2 separate regions of the Homo sapiens genome follow, and region 1 is linked to region 2. The links are contacts of gene promoters, found by promoter capture Hi-C in blood cells and fetal thymus (Javierre and others, 2016). All regions are on one chromosome and are shown on one strand. Each heading gives the region's core, a stretch centred on a gene start or on the middle of the fragment in contact. The rest is flanking DNA. Distances are from core to core; before and after follow the strand shown. Region 1 overlaps CDADC1 (cytidine and dCMP deaminase domain containing 1). Region 2 holds the start of ARL11 (ARF like GTPase 11).

What was found. The method cuts DNA at HindIII sites, captures the fragments that hold promoters and counts their contacts. A CHiCAGO score of 5 or more calls a contact.
Region 1: a fragment that was not itself captured here is called in contact with the fragment with the promoter of ARL11 in region 2 in 2 of 17 cell types (non-activated CD4 T cells and naive CD8 T cells); the score reaches 6.0 in non-activated CD4 T cells.

What each region holds. Positions count from the first base shown.
Region 1 is chr13:49,283,462-49,286,772 of GRCh38, forward strand. It overlaps CDADC1 (cytidine and dCMP deaminase domain containing 1), which reads left to right. Exons shown (of 10, transcript NM_030911.4): 9 at 2,761-2,821. Among named protein-coding and RNA genes, the nearest start is that of CDADC1, 37 kb to the left of the region's middle. The HindIII fragment of the contact is 3,185 bases long and covers 1-3,129 here.
Region 2 is chr13:49,626,979-49,630,438 of GRCh38, forward strand. ARL11 (ARF like GTPase 11) reads left to right here and starts at 1,529. Exons shown (of 2, transcript NM_138450.6): 1 at 1,529-1,637; 2 at 3,452-3,460. RefSeq lists an enhancer at 1,781-1,830. The HindIII fragment of the contact is 16,861 bases long and covers 1-3,460 here.

The DNA of each region.
Region 1 (3,311 bases), core at 287-2,786, 340 kb before region 2:
CTTCATTCCTCCTGAAGAGTGTGAATAAATAGGTTTTTCAAGTTCTCCTCATAAAGATTAAGTGACTTAATCATAAAGATTAAGGACTATGAGTGATGGGTTATGGAGAATTCTGAAATATCTTGCTTACTGGTAGATTTTAATAGCTTTTCAATTGTAAAGAGAATGAAGAGATCAGAAGAACTTAAGAAAGGGCAAGAGAAGCAGAAGGAGGCAGGAAGACTAAGGGGATCTTCAGGGGCAGAGATGGGAAAGGAAGCACCCAGTTGGGCCAGACCCTCCCGGAAATACCCTCACTCAGGCACATGTTCCAAAGGCTGTTGTTCATGGTTGTTCTCTGTTCTACCTCCAGTGAAGATGAGCTGTCCATCTTCTCATCCTTCTCATCTGGCCTGGCTGCAAATATTATGTAGATGGTTAGCTAGATACCTAGTTTTGTAAATGCAAGTAATTAACATGAACTAGAATTTGTTCTAAATCTGAATTTCAGTACCAAGATTATCAAAAATAGTGTGTGTCAATAAATTTGGTATTTGTTTTTAAGATTAAAGCAAATTGAAATTACTTTGAAAGATTTTTTGCTTTCCTTTTTGATAAGTTACCATAGACCTTGAGATAAGTAGTTCTATTCTGTGGTGTTGTCACAAACCAGGCTAGGACTGGGCAACACTGTTTCCAAGAATAGATTTTATCAATCTATATCCATGTCCACATACTCAGTTCTTTGTTTTCTCTTTAATATGTGTGGATTTTTCTCTATTAGGTTATATTACTTATTTTTATTATGAAAGTAGTATATGCTCATTGTAGAAGACTAGGAAAATAAAAAAGAACGTGTATTATCTCACAACTCATAGATACCACAATTAACATGTTGCTGTATTTTCTGCCACTAAAAGTTCTTTAAAAAATATTTTAAATAATTTAACACAATATTCCAACCCATAGGCCTAACTTATTTAACCATTCCCATGTTGTTGGACACCTGGATTGTTTCTAAGTTTTTACAGTTATAAGAAGCCTTTTTATGAATGTCCTTAAACATAAATTCAGGATTACTTGTTTTTACTTTGTCTGCCCAAATTAATAGGTTTTAGTGGTTTGACGTCTTTCAAAAAATGCCTAATTTTAAACATTTTTTTGGTAATTTCTCATGTAGCTTCCTACCCTTTCTAAGTCTTCTCTCTTTCTTGGTGCTAGCCTAAACCATCCCATTCGTTTAAATAACCAACCATTTCTAGATGTCCTCCCTTTCCAGGGACTTTTAATACATGGTAAAATGTTTGTCCTGTATCTCATCCCCCCTCAAGGCTCGTGATGTTAACTAGTTAATCTGATGAGTGAACTGATGCTTATGGAAGAGGCTCCCGGGTAATCCATATTTGTGTCCTGAGATGGTGCCCTAGCAGGGCCTTTTGGTTAAGTCATTAGTGATTCTGATAGAGATTCTATCCAGCTGAGAAAAGAAGGGCTGTGCTATAAGATACCGATTACTCTCCATTTTTATTTTCTCCTGCCCCAATATTCTATGTAATATCTGTGAATCTTCAGGCTTCCCTATTTATTCCTGAATGGTTGAGATGAAATACAGTAATCAGAGGAGATATATGATATGATATAAAATGATATGATGCAGGTAATAGTTTATGATATAACAACATTAAAAGGCAAGGTAATCTTGGTCATATTTTCTTTTTCTTTTCTTTTTTTTTTCTTTTTTCTTTTTTTTTTTTGTGAGACAGAGTCTTGCTCTGTCTTCCAGGCTGGAGTGCAGTGGTGCAATCTCGGCTCACTGCAAGCTCCACCTCCCGGGTTCTCGCCATTCTCCTGCCTCAGCCTCTCGAGTAGCTGGGACTACAGGCACCGGCCACCACGCCCAGCTAATTTTTTGTATTTTTAGTAGAGACGGGGTTTCACCTTGTTAGCCAGGATGGTCTCTATCTGACCTCGTGATCCACCCACCTCAGCCTCCCAAAGTGCTGGGATTACAGGCGTGAGCCACTGTGCATGGCCTATCTTGGTCATATTTTCATTCTTTAATACCTAGGCCTTTTCTAGCTATTATAAGATTCTCTAGGACCTGGAGATAGAATACAATGCGATGTTAATTCCATAGTACTGGGCATGGGTTCTAATTCTATTGCCTCCTGTAGTTAGGGTGTAACCTGAGACAAGTCACTCCAATCCTCTGGTCTTCCACTTACTTCCAATTAAAATGAATGTAAAGAATCTTCAACTTCTCTAAGAGTATTGATTCGGATCCCAGAAGTTATATCATTCAGGATCACTCAGTGTGGCGTTATTAGGGCTTTGTTAATTTGAACATGCTAACTTCTTTTTCTTCTATTTTTTTAATTTTTTTTTTTTTTCAAGATGGAGGCTTGCTCTGTCACCCAGGCTGAAGTGCAGTGGCACCATCTCAGCTCACTGCAACCTCCACCTCCCAGGTTCAAGCAATTCTCTTACCTCAGCCTCCCAAGTAGCTAGGACTACAGGCGCGTGCCACCACGCCCAGCTAATTTTTGTATTTTTATTAAAGACGGAGTTTCACCATGTTGGCCAGGTTGGTCTCAAACTCCTTAACTCAGGTAATCCACCTACCTTGGCCTCCCAAAGTGCTGGGATTACAGGTGTGACCCACTATGCCCAGCCATTTTTCTTCCATTTTTAAGAAGTTGTTTTGATATTTAAAATCAATGTGCTGGAATGCTATGTATTAAATCCTCTTTAAACAAGTAAAATGTTTGTGCACTCTTACAGTGGCAGCTGAATCCATCAGGAGCTTATGGTCTTGAACAAAATGAGCCTGAAAGGAGAGAAAGTAAGTATTTATGTATTGAGGTGAACTTTGTTGCTGAGGAGAAAGGATATACAGTGAATTTTAATGATCAGGTGATGAAAATTGTGTTAATAGATGGAGCATATTATTTTTGAAGGTTAGATTTTTGCCATTCAATTTGTTCATAAATATTTGTGGGTCTACCATATGCTAGGTGCTATGGAAAGTGCCGATTAATAATTACTCCTATAGAATCTACAGGTTAATACAAATAATTATGCACAAATTGACTTTATAAATTAAATGCATATGAAACAGTAAACAGCAATGCTCTTCTATAACAAAACAAAAGCTTATTGGGGAGTGAGAAAGGAAAAATATGTATAATTAGTACAGATGGATTGGGACCAAATGATGAGGATATATACATTCTTCTAGAGTAAACCCACATTTGCCCAGATTGGAAATGTTCTGGTAACTTGAATAATCTGATTAACTAAGAATCATCACAGCTACCATAATGAATTACTAG
Region 2 (3,460 bases), core at 279-2,778:
GTACTCGGGAGGCTGAGGTGGGAGAATTGCTTGAACCTAGGAGGCGGAGGTTGCAGTGAGCCGAGATTGTGCCATTGCACTCCAGCCTGGGCGCCAGAGCGAGACTCCATCTCAATTAAAAAAAAAAAATAGGAGAGAGACAGAGTCTCACTCTGTCTTCTAGGCTGGAGTGCAGTGCTGTGATCTCAGCTCACTGCAGCCTCCACCTCCTGGGCTCATGCAGTTCTTGGGCCTCAATCTCCCAAGTACCTGGAACTACAGGCACACATCACCATGCCTGGTTAATTTATTATTTTTTGTAGAGACGTGGTTTCACCATATTGGCCAGGCTGGTCTTGAACTCCTGAGCTTGAGCGATCCTCCTGCCTTGGCCTCCCAAAGTGCTGGGATTACAGGCATGAGCCCCCATGCCCGGCGACTAGCCAATTTTTTAAAAATTACATTTTCTAGAGGTGTCATTTTTACTGGGAAAAACACAGTGACACCATTCAAGAAAAAATTGAACGGTAACTTTAATCACTACATTAACACAATTTTAAAGGTTGATCTGCATCATACATACCTTTTAAAGAATGTTTTCATCATATGTAGACAGCTTTTTTTGTTTTTTGTTTTTGTTTTTGTTTTGAGGCAGAGTCTCGCTCTGTCACCAAGGCTGGAGTGCAGTGGTGTGATCTGGGCTCACTGCAACCTCCGCCTCCCGGGTTCATGCCATTCTCCTGCCTCAGCCTCCCAAATAGCTGGGCCTACAGGTAGGTGCCACCACGCCCAGCTAATTTTTGTATTTTTAGTAGAGACGGGGTTTCACCATGTTAGCCAGGCTGGTCTCGAACTCCTGACCTCGTGATCCACCCACCTCAGCCCCCCAAAATGTTGGGATTACAGGCCTGAGCCACCACGCCTGGCCATAGGCAGCTTTTAAAAGAACACATGTGCAGCCTGGCCATCATGGTGAAACCTGTCTTTATGAAAAATACAAAAATCAGCTGGGCATGGTGGCACCTGCCTATAATCCCACTTGCTTAGGAGGTTGAGGAGGGAGGATCGCTTGAGCCCTGGAGGCGGAGGCTGCTGTCCAGCCTGGGCGACAGAGCAAGACTCGGTCTCAAATAGAAAACAAAACAAAACAACAACAACAACAACAACAAACCATGTGTGATTCCAAGCAAATCAGAGAATCTCTAGCCACCAGAAAAACCTTGAGGCATGTACTGAAAGGAAGAGGTCAGAATTCTCTGCGAGGAGCTCAGAGGATCCTGAGGGAAGAGAGAAGGCGGCTGCGCTTGGACACAGCTCCGAGCTCGTGCTCCCTCCTTCAGGCACCCAAGTCTGAGTTGCTAAAAAATGGAGCTGTCACTGGGCCTTGCTCTGCCAGGACCTGCAGAGCCGGGGACCTCTCTGTGGCAAGCCCAGCAAGATGACTGCTCTGAGGCGCCCTAGGGCTGAGGGAGGGGCCGTGACACCAGCCCCGCCCCCCAGCCACCTGGGAAAAGGAAGCACAAAAAGGAGAAGCAGCAACGGCTGCTCTGCTTCCTTCCCATCTCGCTCTTGGGTCATGCCTGGCCAGCAGAAAGCAGCTCCATAGGGGAGGAGAGCCACGCAGGATCTCACAGCTGCAGTCTAATAGTAACACAGAGGTAATTTTAACTTTTTACTTTTCTACCCTTGGGAGTAGGGATGAGTAGAGGCTTACCTCCTTCCAGAGGCAGCTCATATCCCCCCACCCCCATTCCCGGAAGTTGAGATGTCTCTTCTCTGTTCCACGCAGGCATCGTCTAAGTTGGGAACAGGTCTTATGTCTTAAAATTTGGGATTCTTTAAAAACATATGTGGCTGGGCACAGTGGCTCACGCCTGTAATCCCAGCACTTTGGGAGGCCGGGCAGGTGGATAATTTGAGGTCAGGAGTTCAATACCAGCCAGGCCAACATGGTGAAACCTCGTCTCTAATATAAATACAAAAAGTAGCTGGGTGGTAGTAGTAGCTGTAATCCCAGGTACTCGGGAGGCTGAGGCAGGAGAATCCCTTGAACCTAGGAGGCGGAGGTTGCAGGGAGGCAGAGGTTGTGATGAGCCAAGATTGCACCACTGCACTCCAGTCTGGGTGACACAGTGAGACCCTGTCTCAAAACAACAACAAAAATGTGTGATGGCACATGCCCATAGTCCCAGCTACTGGGGAGGCTGAGGTGGGAGGATGGCTTGAGCCTGGGAAGTCGAGGCTGCAGTGAGCTGTGATCATGCCACTGCAGTCCAGCCTGGGCGACAGAGTGAGACCCTGTCTCAAAACAAAACAAAACAAAACAAAACAAAAAAACCCAAAAACAAACAAAAAAGCACATGTGGAGTGTTGTAGAAGTCATTGACCTTGGTAAGACAGTGGAGGAAACTGCTTTGCTCTGACTCATAAATTTGCCCCCAGTAAACAGTATTTATAAATAGCCCCAGTCAGGCACTGCATGAAGACATTTCAGTCAACGACAGACCACATATACAACGGTGGTCCCATAAGATTATAACAGAGCTGAAAAATTCCTATTTTTCAGCTTAGTGTTGTGGTGCAACCACTACCTTTTCTATGTTTAGATACACGAATACTTAGCACTGTGTTACAATAGCCTACAGTACCCATTACAGGAATGCTGTACCGGTGTGTAGCCCAGGAGCAATGGGCCATACCATATAGCCTAGGTGTGGAGTAGACTAGACCATCCACGTTTGTGTAATTACAATCTATGATTTTGTAAAATGATGAAATTGCCTAATGAAGCATTTCTCAGAATGTGTCCCCGTCATTAAGTGACACCTCACTGTGTTTCCAAGACATAGTACTGGTCCTTGGGAAGCTCTAAAGAGAGGTCACCGTGAGCTGAACCATCCTTCTCACTCTGTGCATGGAACCCAGCTTAGCTTCCATTTCAGCATTTAGGCTTATAGGAGGAGAAGAGGTTAGAAGCCACAGACCAGCAAGAATTGAAGACATCGTTCTGTAATTTCTACTGAACCAGCTCTGTCTGACTGGAACTTCATTTTGCCTCTTTGCTTTAACTCCTCAGGAATGTCTTCCAGGAGGCCCCTGATCTTCTCTGCTCAGGGACCACTCTTATCTGACCCAGAGACAGGTTAGCTGATGGTGACTCACACATCCTCACTTCCTTCAAAGCCCAGGCATCTGTTTAAAATCTGACCCTGTGAAGACTTTTCCTGTTTTGGAAAAACTCTTCCGTTGTTTGCCTGCACAGATTTGTGCTCCATTTTTAATTTCAATTTTTGTAGAGAAGGCGGGTCCTTGCTTTGTTGCCTCGGCTTGTTTGAAACTCCTGGGCTCAAGTGATCCTCCTGCCTTGGCCTCCCACAGTGCTGGGATTACAGGTGTGAGCCACTGCACCAGGATGGATTTGTCTTCCTTCAGAAGACAGTAGCTGATGTGTGCCCTGGCCTTTCTCCCCTAGGATTCAGCA